5 separate regions of the Homo sapiens genome follow, and all the other regions are linked to region 1. Evidence: promoter capture Hi-C in 16 types of primary human blood cells and fetal thymus (Javierre and others, 2016). All regions are on one chromosome and are shown on one strand. Each heading gives the region's core, a stretch centred on a gene start or on the middle of the fragment in contact. The rest is flanking DNA. Distances are from core to core; before and after follow the strand shown.

What was found. The method cuts DNA at HindIII sites, captures the fragments that hold promoters and counts their contacts. A CHiCAGO score of 5 or more calls a contact.
Region 2: a fragment that was not itself captured here is called in contact with the fragment with the promoter of VPS37D in region 1 in 1 of 17 cell types (M1 macrophages); the score reaches 5.7 in M1 macrophages.
Region 3: a contact is called between a fragment that was not itself captured here and the fragment with the promoter of VPS37D in region 1, in 1 of 17 cell types (erythroblasts). The highest score is 6.1, in erythroblasts.
Region 4: a contact is called between a fragment that was not itself captured here and the fragment with the promoter of VPS37D in region 1, in 2 of 17 cell types (endothelial precursors and erythroblasts). The highest score is 6.3, in endothelial precursors.
Region 5: a contact is called between a fragment that was not itself captured here and the fragment with the promoter of VPS37D in region 1, in 2 of 17 cell types (M1 macrophages and erythroblasts). The highest score is 6.5, in M1 macrophages.

What each region holds. Positions count from the first base shown.
Region 1 is chr7:73,666,577-73,669,319 of GRCh38, reverse strand. It overlaps VPS37D (VPS37D subunit of ESCRT-I), which reads right to left and starts at 1,489. Exons shown (of 4, transcript NM_001077621.2): 1 at 1,224-1,489. The coding sequence starts at 1,361. RefSeq lists an enhancer at 332-1,327 and silencers at 1,309-1,608, 1,719-1,818, 1,829-1,878. The HindIII fragment of the contact is 11,431 bases long and covers 1-2,743 here.
Region 2 is chr7:74,011,383-74,014,142 of GRCh38, reverse strand. No RefSeq gene overlaps it. Among named protein-coding and RNA genes, the nearest start is that of ELN, 15 kb to the left of the region's middle. RefSeq lists an enhancer at 950-1,269. The HindIII fragment of the contact is 3,005 bases long and covers 1-2,760 here.
Region 3 is chr7:73,341,581-73,344,360 of GRCh38, reverse strand. It overlaps FKBP6 (FKBP prolyl isomerase family member 6 (inactive)), which reads right to left. Exons shown (of 9, transcript NM_003602.5): 8 at 1,462-1,554. The coding sequence ends at 1,464. Among named protein-coding and RNA genes, the nearest start is that of FKBP6, 15 kb to the right of the region's middle. RefSeq lists an enhancer at 1,302-2,246. The HindIII fragment of the contact is 1,095 bases long and covers 913-2,007 here.
Region 4 is chr7:74,037,413-74,040,112 of GRCh38, reverse strand. It overlaps ELN (elastin), which reads right to left. Exons shown (of 33, transcript NM_000501.4): 4 at 2,374-2,406. Among named protein-coding and RNA genes, the nearest start is that of ELN, 11 kb to the right of the region's middle. The HindIII fragment of the contact is 961 bases long and covers 892-1,852 here.
Region 5 is chr7:73,958,244-73,961,003 of GRCh38, reverse strand. No RefSeq gene overlaps it. Among named protein-coding and RNA genes, the nearest start is that of ELN, 69 kb to the left of the region's middle. The HindIII fragment of the contact is 1,484 bases long and covers 596-2,079 here.

The sequences.
Region 1 (2,743 bases), core at 240-2,739:
CCAAAGGCACCTGTCAGGCACCCCTTCAGGGTGGTGAACCCAACAGGTGAAGGGACGATGACAGGCCGGGACCAGAACTGGCTCTGCCCTGAGCTCCCTCTCTGGCCTCAGTTTCCTCTTTTACAAATCGAGTTAAAAAACATCCACCTTATGGGGTTGTTGAGAGACTTAAGTGAGGAAAACTATAAAGGCCTCTACAAATGTTAGTTAATTTTTAATTTTTCAATTAATATGTCTGCTCAGGTCCCGGAGGAGTGCCCCTCCCTCCTCTGCCCCATTTTCCATGCATGGACAGCTTCCCTCTCACTCCAGGCCTTTGTCTGTTTCCTCCTCAGGTGTTTGCACCGAAAACACTCCCACCCCCTGCTCATCCTCTCCAGAGGGGTGTCTGCACCCCGTCCCCTCACAGCACCCCCTCGGGTCACCCTCTCTTCCCTTCCCACCCCTTCCTCTGCCTCCAGTGGAATCCTCACACCCCAAGGAATACACACCCCCTTTTCCTCCCTGCTCCGGGCTTACAGCAGCCCCGGCCCTGGAGAAGGCTTTTTCCTTGTCTCTAGCAGGGCCCAACCTCCCCTCCCTGCCCCTGGAGAACGCACTCCCCTCCATCTGTCCCTTGTGGGATGCACAAGCCCCTCCTCGCCTGCCTGCTTTCAACACACACTTGCCCTTTCTGCCCCCCACAGACAACCAGCCCGGGCCTATCTCCCGTGAAATATACAACTTTCTCTTACGGTGGCCTATGCAATACACACGGCAGCTTCCAGCACCCCTCCCCAACGCCAGGCACAAAGCCCCCTCTTGCGCCCCCAGAATGCGTGAACCCCCAACGGCCCCTCCAGGTGTCAGACAGGCCCCTAGTTCTCCCAGTGGAAGGCGCCTCCTCTTTCTGGCCCTTACAGAACGTGGGTGTGCGAGCCAGGGCCCCCCACAACACAGCCCCCCGGAACACACCTCCCCGGAGCATCCGCTGTAGGACACGCCTCGCGGCCATCCTGGGGGTGCACAGGCGCCCCCCTCGGGTCCCCGGCGCCCCACCCGCCCCAGGCCAGCTCCAAGCGCCCCCTCCCCCGGGGGTGGCTCCGCGGGGCCCACTCGTACGTGCCAGGCTCCGCGCCCACGGGCGGCCCCGCGGCCCGGCCCGCGCGGCCCTTCCCTCGAGCGGCAGGTCCCGCAGGCCGCTGCCCGTCCCCCGCGCCCCCCGCTCGAGCCCCCCGCGCTACCTTCCTGCTGAGCCGCACGATCCGGTCCAGCTTGGGCTCATCCTGAAGCAGGTCCCGGAGCTGCCCGGTGCTGAGGATCCCAAAGCGCCCCGGGCTGCCGGGCTCCGGCCCCGCCCGCGCCGCCCGGGCCCGGTACATGCCGCCCGCCCGCGCCCCCAGCTCGGCTGCTGGCTCGGCCCGCTCGGCCCGCTCCGCCCCGGCTCCGCTCCGCTCCGCTCCGCTCCGGCTCCAGGATCCGCTCCGGCTCCGGCCGCACGCACCGCTCCGCCGCCAGGGGGCGCCCCTCCCGCTCTTAAAGGAGCCGCGGCGCCGGGGCTGGGGGTGGGGCAGGGAGGAGGCGGGCCGCACCCCTCCCCGCCCCGGCCGCGCCGCGCCGCCTCCAGCACCCCAGGATCGCCCAGCAACCCGATCTCCCCGCCCCTCCCGGAATCTGAGCCGCCCTGCTCTGCGCCCCAGCACCGGCCCTGGCTCACCACGCCCCCAGGCACGGACTCTCCCACCCCGGGCGGTTACAATTTGCAGAGCCCGTGCACGTTTTCCCCTCGGATGGCAACAACAAATTTCTGACTTTGGCCGGGCGCCGAGGGCTCCTGCCTTGCAGCCCTCCCCAAGCCTCAGTTTTCTCTTCTGTAAAATGGGGTTGGAGATGGTGAGCGCTGACTTGCTGGCCGGGCGCGGTGGCTCTCTCCTGTAATTCCAGCGATTTGGGAGACCGAGAAGGGAGGATCGCTTGAGGCCAGGAGTTTGAGACCAGCCTGGGCAACATAACAAGACCCCCGTCTCTATTTAAAAAAATTTAAAAATTGTCAAAAGGGTGAAAAGAGGCCGGGCGCGGTGGCTCACGCCTGTAATCCCAGCACTTTGGGAGGCCGAGGCGGGCGGATCACGAGGTCAGGAGATCGAGACCATCCTGGCTAACATGGTGAAACCCCGTCTCTACTAAAAATACAAAAAAAATTAGCCGGGCGTGGTGGCGGGCGCCTGTAGTCCCAGCTACTCGCGAGGCTGAGGCAGGAGAATGGCGTGAACCCGGGAGGCGGAGCTTGCAGTGAGCGGAGATCGCGCCACTGCACTCCAGGCTGGGTGACAGAGCGAGACTCCGTCTCAAAAAAAAAAAAAAAAAGAGTGAAAAGAACAATTTTTAAAAGTATTTAAATGCTTTTAAAAAGTATCCGGACATGGTGGCATGCGTCTGTAGTCCTAGCTACTCAGGAGGCAGAGGTGGGAGATTGCTTGAGCTCAGTTTTGAGACCAGCCTGGGCAACACAGCAAGACCCCATCTCTATAAAAGTAAAATTAAAATGCTGAGGGATAGTGATATGGCTAGCAATGTTATAATGAATACACATAGTAGGTCAATACCCACTTGTTATTTTAGACATGCAGAAGCATCACAGAGGCCGGGCACGGTAGCCCATGCCTGTAATCCCAGCACTTTGGGAGTCCAAGGTGGGTGAATCATTTGAGGTCAGAAGTTTGAGACCAACCTGACCAACAAAAATTAGCCGGGCGTGGTGGTG
Region 2 (2,760 bases), core at 73-2,572, 340 kb before region 1:
CCAGGCTCAGCGGAGGCCCTTGGCCAAGAACAGCAGAGCCATTCTCAGGAAAGCTGAGGGATTAAGCTGGGAGGCCAGCAGGGATTCAGGTATCCGCCCTCTGCCCCAGCTTGGCCATGGGAGGCAGGGCGACCTCACAGTTGTAAAGCAAAGGGACTGACCAGAGCCACCCACCCGGGGACCTGAGGACACAGTGTGGCCTGGACCAGCTCGCTCCTGCGGCCGCCTCTGGGGAGGAGTCGAGATCACATGGACTGATGCTGAAGGACTCTGGCCTAGGACCTGTCCCTGATCTCAGGCCCGCCCTGCCCTGGTGTTGGAATCTTAGCTCCTCTGGGTCTCCTGGGGGCTGTGCTCACCTGGAGGGATGGGTAGGATGACGTGGATGCCTCAGTGCAGACAGTCCCTTCTGCTGGGGCCACCTTTGTGTCTGGCAGGGCTAGTATGGGGCGGACAGGCCTGGCCATGGCTGCTGGGCTGTAGTGGCAGAGGTGATTGGGGTCAGAGGGCTATATGTGTCTGCCCAGCCCCTGGGGGGAGGGTCTCCAGCTTGGCTCTGGTAGGGGTCCCTAAACTCCTGGGGCTCTCTCTCTTCCACCTCCCCCTGTGGAGGGGCTTCTGTTCCCTGACTCCCCCTGGGTAGAATGTGGTTCCCGCATCCCTGTCCTGTCCAAATCCAACCCACACTCAGGACTTGCTTGCCTCTAGGGACCCCAGACTGGGCCATGTGCTTGCACCTGCTCCCAGCCCCCTATTCTCCCCCCAGGGTGACACTGGCTGCACTGAACTGCTACCATCTGCAGACAGCCCTGTCTCTCTCGCACTGGAGCCCACCTCAGGCAGGGCCGCCCCCTTCTCTTCTCCAATCTCCCTCTCCCCACTTGGCTAATTCCAATGTCCCTGGGCCATGCTGGCCGCTGGCTGGGCCCCGCCAGAGCAGGTGGCTGCCTGACCTGGCCTGGTCCCCGTCTGGGCCGCCTCTAGGCCCCTCCCTATGGGCCCAGGCTGATGGGGGTGTCTGCAGGGATGCTGACTCAGATGTTATTTTGGGCTCCCCTTGGGCCCGGCGGGCTCTGGGGCCTCAGGCCTGTTTAGACGGCTGGGCCGGATGTGACTGATTCCAGGCCCCTGGGCCTCCACCTACTGGGTGAGAGCCAGGCCAAGGTAGACGCTCTGGGCAGGGGGCAGGCAGGTCGGGCAGGCCTCGCGGGTCCAGAGATCCCAGGTCCAGCCCAGCTTCCCTCCTGCACTCCAGCTGCCTGGAGGCCCCGCCTTCCTCACACCTCATTCACAGCCCCAGGGGTTCCAGCTGAGGGCCTGAACCTGGGGGCTGCCATCCTAGGCACTGAGAGGTCATTTTCTTTTTCTTTTTTCTTTTTTTTGGGACAGAGTCTCACTCTGTCGCCCAGGCTGGAGTGCAGTGGCATGATCTTGATTCACTGCAACCTCCTCCTCCTAGGTTCAAGTGATTCTCCTGCCTCAGCCTCCCAAGAAGCTGGGATTACAGGCGGCTGCCACCACATCTGGCTAATTTCTGTATTTTTGCTAGAGACGGGGGTCTCACCATGTTGGCCAGGCTGATCTTGAACTCCTGACCTCAAGTGATCTGCCTGCCTCGGCCTCCCAAAGTTCTGGGATTATAGGCGTGAGCCACTACGCCCAGCCCTGGAGGATTTTCAGTCCCAGAATCCCTGAATGAGATTGCCAGCTGGAGAGAGCCAGTCTCCAAGGGCATAGCCTCAGTATCCCCTCGGCCCCAGATACACACCTGTGCCCCCAAGGTAGGGGACTCGAGGCCCAGAGACGCAGAGACAGGCCCATTCCAACCTGGGTCTCTAACTCCCAGAATATGCGCCCTCTTCAAAGCTGCTCAGCGGAAGACCAAGGGACAAGTCCCCTGGGCTCCCCAAGCCCCACATGGGCTCTGCGCCGGGTGTCCCTGGCTTTAAGAACACTCCCTCTGTTCAGTGGGTCTCGGCTTCCTCATCTGTCAAAGCCACTGTTCGGGCTCCATTGGGAGCCCACGGGCCAGGACGACCTCCAGATTTGCTGTTGTAAAGTGGCCACCCAGGCAGGGGCAGCTGGTGCTGCTGGTCTTGGGGGCAGAGCTTCACCATCCACCCCCCCCGGAGTAATATATAATTCTATTATTTGTGTTCTGAGAAGCTGGCTGTTATATCTAGAGGCTTGATTAAGGTAATATTCTGGCTGGGCACAGTGGTTCACACCGGTAATCCCAGCACTTTGGGAGGCCTATGCGGACGGATCACCTGAGGTCAGGTGTTTGAGACCAGCCTGGCCAACATGGCGAAACCCCATCTCTACTAAAAATACAAAAAATTAGCCAGGCATGGTGGTGCACTCCTGTAATCCCAGCTACTTGGCTGAGGCAGGAGAATCATTTGAACCCGGGAGGTGGAGGTTGCAGTGAGCCAAGATCGTGCCATTGCACTCCGGCCTGGGCAACAAGAGCAAAACTCCATCTCAAAGTAAATAAATAAATAAATAAATAAATAAATAAATAAATAAAATTAAAGAAAATAAAGTAATATTATTTCTTGGTCACCCAGCCTGGATTGCAGTGGCACAATCACAGCTCACTGCAGCCTCAACCTCCTGGGTCCAAGCAATCCTCCCACCTCAGCCTCCCGGGTAGCTGGGACCACAGGTATGTGCCACTATGCCTGGCTAGTTTTGTATTTTTTTGTAGAGAGGGGGTTTCACCCTGTTAGCCAGGCTGGTCTCGAACTCCTGACCTCA
Region 3 (2,780 bases), core at 211-2,710, 320 kb after region 1:
AAAGCATCTGAAGATCAGCAGCCTCCAGTCCTACAGACTGAAAAGGCTGGGAAGCAAACATGATGGCGAGGAAAACTGCTGCCCAGCTGGGCTGCCCAAGCCCTTGTCTGGGATGGACCCTGGCAGACCTGGGTCTTCATTCATGACAGGACTTGTGGGGTCACAGTCCAAAATGTTTGGCAAACAGTCACTGCCCTTCATTTTTACTGGATACTAGAAGTGACCAAACAAGGGAAGTCCTCTGGCTCACATCTCAGTTCTGAAGACCTGCAAATATGTACTCCAAAGGCCACTGAAAGACCTGAAGGCCAGGGTTCACATGGCCAGCATCAGTGACGAAGGCAACATTTACCTGTGATGCTGGTGGGCGCATCTGAAAGTGCAGATAGCAGCAGTTTATGGACCGCTATGAAAATGTCGGGGATGAATAGGCCTTTTCACTGCCTCCTCCTCTCAAGCCCCTTTTGTAGGGAGATGGAGGAAGCAACAAAGGAGAGATTTATCACCATGAGCCCGTTCAGCAGCTGTTTTCTTGTTGTTCCTTGTTTGACTTCTCCGAGAGAGCAGAGTTATCTGTGCAGCTAAGCAGGTGTTTCAGGCAGGTGATTTTGTTTCCATTAATTTTATTAAATAGTAGACCAGACTGGAGGGTTCAGACTGGAGGGTTATCTCATGTGCTTGGGAACTCCCGCCCTGTGCCTGCAAAATTACTAGGTGTGATCTTGGGAGGAATGCTATATTCCGCTCCCTGTTGCTTTCAGCATCTTCAAATCTCTAAGTCTAATAGAAAGTAGAATTTAAGAGCCACAGCCCATCCCCACCCTGCGATCTTGTCTGCTTTAGTAATGTGTTAGAGACACAGTCAAGTTGGAGGCTTTCGAGTTCTCAGGAGAAAGAAGATGAACAGAAGCTTGACACGTCAAAGCCCAGCTCTATCAACCATCACATTCATGACTCTACTCAGTCTCATGTTCCAAGCAACTGCAAGGAGAGTTTCACATAAAACATGAAAAAAAAAGGTTTTTTAAAAAATAAATTTAGGCTGAGCGCCACGGCTCACAGCTGTAATCTCGGCTACTCAGGAGGCTGAGGCAGAAGAATCGCTTGAACCTGGGAGGCGGAGCTTGCAGTGAGCTGAGATCGCACCACTGCACTCCAGCCTGGGCAACAGAGTGAGACTCTGCCTCAAACAAACAAACAAACAAATAAATAAATAAATAGCTCAAGGCCCCCTGAACCTATACATTTAACCCACAGGTCTGGGCGAACTTTCTTCTCACGGGAAAGGTAGGCGTGCAGCACGTGCATCCTGCACTACCGTTGTGTTGTTCTTTACAGCAAGGAACTTGTCTACCCCTCGTCCACCCTCAGCTGCAGACAGCCACCATTCACTTGGGGGTGGAGGAGAGCAGCACGCTTCTCCATCCGGAAGCCTGTGTGCCACCCTGGCCCTTTGATTACCTTCAACTTTCTCCTGCTGTAGAACCATCGCCACAGGGCGCGAACATGCGGTGCCACATTTCTTTCTCTTTATCCACATAGTCCCTGTAACAGCTGGAGAGGGAAATACACACTTGTTAGAGGAGGTCTGTGTTTGGAGGAGGTGACATCTGGTGGCTGGAATTCTCCACTCACATCCAGAAACACTGAAAATTTATCAGGACTCAAACTGAGTTGGGAGGGATGGAAGTAAGCTGGAGAGGTGGGGAGGCAGGGAAGGCTCCCACAGCTGGCCAAGGAGCCAAGCCCCTGGACAAAACCCCCTAACTGGAAAGGACAGCTGCCTTGAAGGGCAGGTGCCTCTGGCCACCAGGCTCCGGGCTGAGTCTCGCCAAACGACCCCTCACCCTCAGCAGCCTCTAACCTCTCCTGATTTTCTCACTAAAGAATGACCAGATCTGACAGGATACTTTTAAATACCAGAAAGGAAATTGCTGGCAAGTCCTAAAAGGCTTGAAATGTAACCTAAGAGATACTCACATCTCAGACACTAATGCCAAGCAAGCTTTAACTAGCAATCTGGACCGAATGTTTAATATTAAGACAAGTAGAGAATTTCACCATTACAGAAGAAGATATACCTTAAAAACCATGGACCTATTACCAAGTGATGGAGTTATGGGGGACTCCTATTTATAGGTAGACATTTTCAAGGTTTTCTACAATGGACACAAAACTTCTATAATGAGAAAAAATTACATCACTAAAAGACTGGTGTGCTTAGTCACGTGGGTAACAAGGAGGTCAATCCATGGGTATGAGTCAGACCCGAAACGCCTGTTTCTGGTCACATGAGGACCTACGAGGGGCCTTTCTGCACTTGGTTAGGAGCAGTGGTTCTTGGTGGAGCACGCAGGGAAGAGCGCACCAGAAGACTCTTTTTAAGTGACACCGGGGCCAGTTGTGGTGGCTTGTGCCTGTAATCCCAGCACTTTGGAAGGACGAGGTGGGGGGATCACCTGAGGTCAGGAGTTTGAGACCAGCCTGGTCAACACGGTGAAACCCTGTCTCAACTAAAATACAAAAACAATTAGCCAGATGTGGTGGTACACGCCTGTAATCCCAGCTACCTTGGAGGCTGAGACAGGAGAATCGTCTGAACTCGGGACGCGGAGGTTGCAGTGAGCCGAGATCATGCCATTGCCCTATAGCCTAGGTGACAGAGAGGGACTCCATCTCAAAAAAAAAAAAAAAAAGTGACACCCTCCCACCTCTCTAGGGGTTGTTTATTTGCGGTAGGGGAAACAGAAAGGTGGGCGATGATGGAGATGTATAGTCTG
Region 4 (2,700 bases), core at 123-2,622, 370 kb before region 1:
TTTTTCCCATGATCCCAGCCTGAGCATCCTGTCATGTGGCCTGACCACTTCTGTCTCTGCCTGCCCTCCTTCCTTTGCACTCACCTGCCCCAAATGCCCCAAGGATTCTAGCATCTGGAAAGGAGGAGAAAGCGGGGAGGGGCTGACCACAGCTGGGAGTCCAGGGACCTGGCCAGCTCCATCCTCCTTCTTTCTAGAGTCAGAGAGTTCTAGATTCAGACCCTGCTGCTGCTACCCAGCCTCCATGAGCACAAGCAGGTCAATTTGCCTCTCCGATGAGGCTTAGTTTTTGCCATCTACAAAATGGCCATTATATCACCTGCCTTGCTGGGACCAGTGAGCATGTGTGCAGAAAGCACCTAGTTGTGCAACCTACCCAGGGCACACAGTGGGTGCTCCCAGTTCCTTCTTGTCCATGCCCGTGCCCCTCTCAGTGGGCGGCTGGCCTCTGGCTAGTGCTCAGGGTGTTGGGTGTGCAGGCTTCCAGCTGCCTGGTCCCCCGCTGAGAGCTGAGGCAGGGCAGGGCCAGCTTGGACCTGTGGTGGCGCCCACGTGGAAAAGCAGCTGCCAGGCCACCCACCCTCTGTCACCAAGGGATTAATTGTTCCCAAGCATGACACGCGCTGCCTGTGCTCCATTCCATCCTGCCTGGGCAGGCCCAGACGTCCTGGCAGCCCGGATGTGGGGGCCTCCCTGGGGGTGCCATGGGGGCTCTGCCGACCCTTCTGTAGCCCTGAGTCTTCGGGGAGGTCATGGAATCCAGCCCCTTGCCTGGAAACACTGCCCTTTTTATCAGAAGGAGATGCTCTGACTTTCCTTTGGATTGACTCCTTCACCCTGAGCTGGAAGTTCTTTCAGAAGTCTAACCTAAATCTTTCATTAACAAAAGCTTCACTTTTGCAACTACACATCCTGGAACTTCGTAGGGAGTTGTCTGTCTTTCCTCTGGTGTTTAACCACAACCTGCTATGTGTCTCTTGCTCCTAGTGGGATCAATGAATGTACCCTCCAGCTTTGCAGGCACAACCTCCTCAATTTGGGTCTTCTAGGCCAAGCACAGACCTACCTCCACACCTCTGCACCACTATCATCTCCCCTGTCCTCTCTTCACCGTCAAAGACCCTGCTAAGAACCCTCACCTGCTCCAGGAAGACAGGGTATAGGTGCTGGCGGGGATAAGTGGCAAGCTCCCAGGGTCTCCTGGCCTTGCAGAGCCCTGTAGACCCCAGGCACCCCGTTCTCCCGCCTCTCCTGGCTCCAGCCCTGGTGTTTCACAACCCAGATGGACTTTTAGCGCAGGGGAATCTGGGTCTTGAAGATTCATTTGCACTTGGATTATCAACTATCAGGATTTCATAAGAGCTCTTGGACATCTAAACTGTGTCCTGGAGACTTGGGCTTCTGAGCCAGGGCAACACAGCTCAGGGTGTGGGGCGGCCAAAGTCACATGTGGAGCGTCTCATGCCGAGGGACCATCAATCTGGACAGAGACGCTGTTTCCTCCACCTGCTCCTTATCCGCCAGTATTTCCCGGAGGGACCTGCCCCACCTTCCTTCCTGGGGGTGCATTCCCCAGAGCTGAGAGTGGACCCTCGTGGCAGATCCCAGCCCCTTGGGCGAGGCCAGGATAGATCCGGCCACACCTTCTTACTGGAAAACTCCGTGGTCTGGACACAGCTGGAAAGGGCCTGAGATTAGGAGGGGAGCTTATCCGGGGCCATGGTCGGTGCTCAGCTTGGGCTTGGGGTCAGGGCTTGGCCTAAGGCCAGGATTGGGGGTCCTGTGGGACCAGGGTCAGCAGGGTCAGGGTTCAGCCTGGGATTAGGCTCAGGGCTTGGGCTGGGGTTAAGCTTTGGCTTGAGACCAGTGCTCCATCTGGAGTCAGGAGAAGGGCTCAGAATGGCATCAAGGTCAGGGTGATCTGGGGTATTGGTCTGGGGTCAAGGGCTAGGGGACCACTCAGGGGAAGTCTGGGGCTGAGGATCTGTGTCTGAGCTCCCGAGGGTCATGTAAGGCTTGGAGGCCACTGGAACCGGAGCAATCCCTGATGTTGCCTCTAACAGCCTCTCCTTTGCAGAGAGGAGTCTCTGGACAGCTGGGTGAACACACATGCACATGTAGGGTAGATGCTAGACGCCCTCACACAGGGAGGACATGGAGCTGCTTCCAGCCTCTTGTTCCTGGAAGCCCTGGGACCTGGCCCCGGCCTACTCATCCTTGGGAGGCTAATCGGTGTCCACACCTCCCTCCTTCCTCCTGCCCGTTGGCTTCCTTGTCCTGTTCCTAGTTTCCTTGTCCCATTCCCAGCTGGGTAGGCTCCTCCCTCCCCAGCTCCCTCGCTGTCTCTCAATGCTCCGAGGCCTTGGGTCTTACCTGGCTTAAGAGGTTTGCCTCCAGGCCCCAGCGCTGCAGAGGGAAGAGAAGATAGTGAATGGGGTGGCCCAGCTTATCCATCTACTACTTATCCAACCCCCAACCCGGGCAAAGTGTGGGCAGTGTGGAATCACACACCCCAGGTCCTCCCGCTCAGACTTGGAGCCCCTGGGAACCTAGCTCTACTTCTAACTCGTGGTTTATACTCTCTGAGTCCCAGAGTCTCAGCCTCAAAAGGGGATGATGGGCTGGGGGTGGTGGCTCACGCCTGTAATCCTAGCACTTTGGGAAGCTGAGGCAGGCGGATCATCTGAGGTCAGGAGTTTG
Region 5 (2,760 bases), core at 88-2,587, 290 kb before region 1:
CGCAAACAGTGGCTTTAAACAACATGTATTTATTTTCTCATAGTTTCTGGGGGCCAGGAGTCCAGGCACAGCTTAGCTAGGTCCTCTGCTTCTAGCTCACTAAGTTGCAATCAAGGTGTCTCATCTGAGGCCAACTGGTGGAGAATCGACTTCTAACTCATGTGGTGGTTGACAGAATTCAGTTCCTTGCAGGCTGCTGGACCAAGAGCTTCAGTTTCCACCTGGCTGTCAGCCAGAGGCCACTCCCATCTCCTTGCCACATGGCAGCTTACTTCCTCAAAGCCATTAGGTGTATGGTGGGGAGGACAAGAGTGTCCTAGCAAGATGGATTATTATCTTACATAATGTAATCACATACACGTCATCATGTACATGCCTTCACCTGTGTTATATTCTATGATTTAGAAGCAAGTCACAAGTCACATCCACGCTCAAGGGGAGGCCACACAAAGGTGTGATGGCAGGAGGTGGGACTCATAGGGCCACCACAGTCTCTCACCACCACTGATAAGACTCAAGCTATATTCTTTAAACCAAAAATGGAGAATACTGCATTATCAATATTAGTCATGAAAGAAGAGACATTACTAAAGCTTCTGTGTACATGAAACAGATAATAAGGGAATGTTATGAGCAATAGCATGCCAGTACATTTGATAGCTCAAGTAGCATGGACAAATTCTTTGAAGACACAAATGACCAAAACTGGCTCAAGAATAAATAGAAGTTTAGAAGGAAAACATAGCGCTGTAAATTCCTATATTAAAAATGAAGCAAGATCTCAAATCAATAACCTAAACTTCTACCCTAAGAAACAAGAAAAAGAGGAACAAAGTTAAACTCAAAGCAAATACAAAGAAAGAAATAATATAGATTAAGGGGAAATAAATGAAATAGAGACAGAAAAGCAATAGAGAAAGCTAATGAAACCAAAAAGTTGGTTCTTCAAAAAGATCAACAAAATTCACAAATCTTTAGACTTGCCAAGAAAAAAAGAGAAAAAAATTCAAATTACTAAAATTGAGAATGGAAGAAATGACATTACTATTTTTTTTTTTTTGAGACGGAGTCTTGCTCTGTTGCCCAGGCTGGAGTGCAGTGGCACAATCTCGGCTCACTGCAACCTCTACCTCCTGGGTTCAAGTGATCCTCCTGCCTCAGCCTCCCAAGTAGCTGGGATTACAGGCACACGTCAACACAGCCGGCTAATTTTGTATTTTTAGTAGAGATGGGGTTTCACCATGTTGGCCAGGCTGGTCTCGAACCCCTGATCTCAGGTGATCCACCCGCCTCGGCCTCTCAAAGTGCTGGGATTACAGGTGTCAGCCACTGCGCCCAGCCAGGACATTACTATTAACCTTACAGAAGGATAGAGAATTATAAGGGAATACTATGAACAATTGTATCCCAGGGACAAATTCTTACAAAGCCTCAAGCTATTAGAACAGACACAAAAAGAAATTAAAAATCTCAAAATATCTATAACAAGAGATTGAATTAATAATTAAAACAAAACAAAACAAAGCAAAACAAACACAAAAGAACTCCTTGCAAAGAAAAACCCAGGACCAGATGGCTTCACTGATGATTTCTGCCAAACATTTAAAGAAGAATTAATATCAATCCTCCAAAAACCTTTCCAAAAATAGGGGGGAAATTTTCCAACTCATTCTGAGGTCCTGACACCAAAACCACACAAAGACAAAACAAGAAAAGAAAACTATAGACCAATAATTCTTACAAATAAAGACAAAAAAATTCTCAGCAAAATACTAGAAAATGAATTCACTAACATACAAAAAGGATTATATACCAATGATCAAGTGAGATTTATGCCAGGAATGTAAGTTTGCCTCAGTGTACAAAAATCAATGCAGTTAATACACCCTATTAATGGAATAAAAGGCAAAACCATATCATCGTCTCAATAGATGTAGAAAAAGCATTGTCAAAATCCAACACCCTTTTGTGATAAAAACAATCTCCAAACTAGGAATAGAAGGATAATTTCTCAACCTGAAAAAAGACATCCATAAAAACCCACCTATCATCATACACAGTGATGAAAGGTAGAAAGCTTTCTTCCTAAGATCAAAAACAAGACAAGAATGTCCCCTGTCAACACTTATATTCCACATTGCATCAGATGTTCTAGCCAGGGCAGGAGAAAGAAATAAAGGCATCCAGATTAGAAAGGATTAAGTATAACTGCCTCTATTTGCAGAGAATGTGGCCTTGTATAGAGAAAATCCTCAGGATTACACAAACACACAGACATATATACACACACACAACTATTAGAACTAATAAATGAGTTCAGCAAGGTTGTAGAATACAAGATAAATATATAAAAATCTGTTATATTTTTTGGAAATGAACAATCCAAAAAATTAGATTAAGAAAACAATTCCATTTATAATAACATAAAAATAAAATACTTAGGAATAAATTTAATAAAACAAGCACAAGACATACTCTGACAACCACAAAACACAGTTGAAAGAAATTAAAGAAGTCTTGATGGGGTGCAGTGGCTCACGCCTGTAATCTCAGCACTTTGGGAGACCAAGGCAGGTGGATCACCTGAGGTCAGGAGTTCGAGACCAGCCTGGCCAATATGGTGAAACACCGTCTCTACTAAAAATACAAAAATTAGCCAGACATGGTGGTGCCTGCCTCTAATCCCAGCTACCAGGGAGGCTGAGGCAGGAGAATCGCTTGAACCCAGGAGGTGGAGGTTGCAGTGAGCCAAGATTGTGC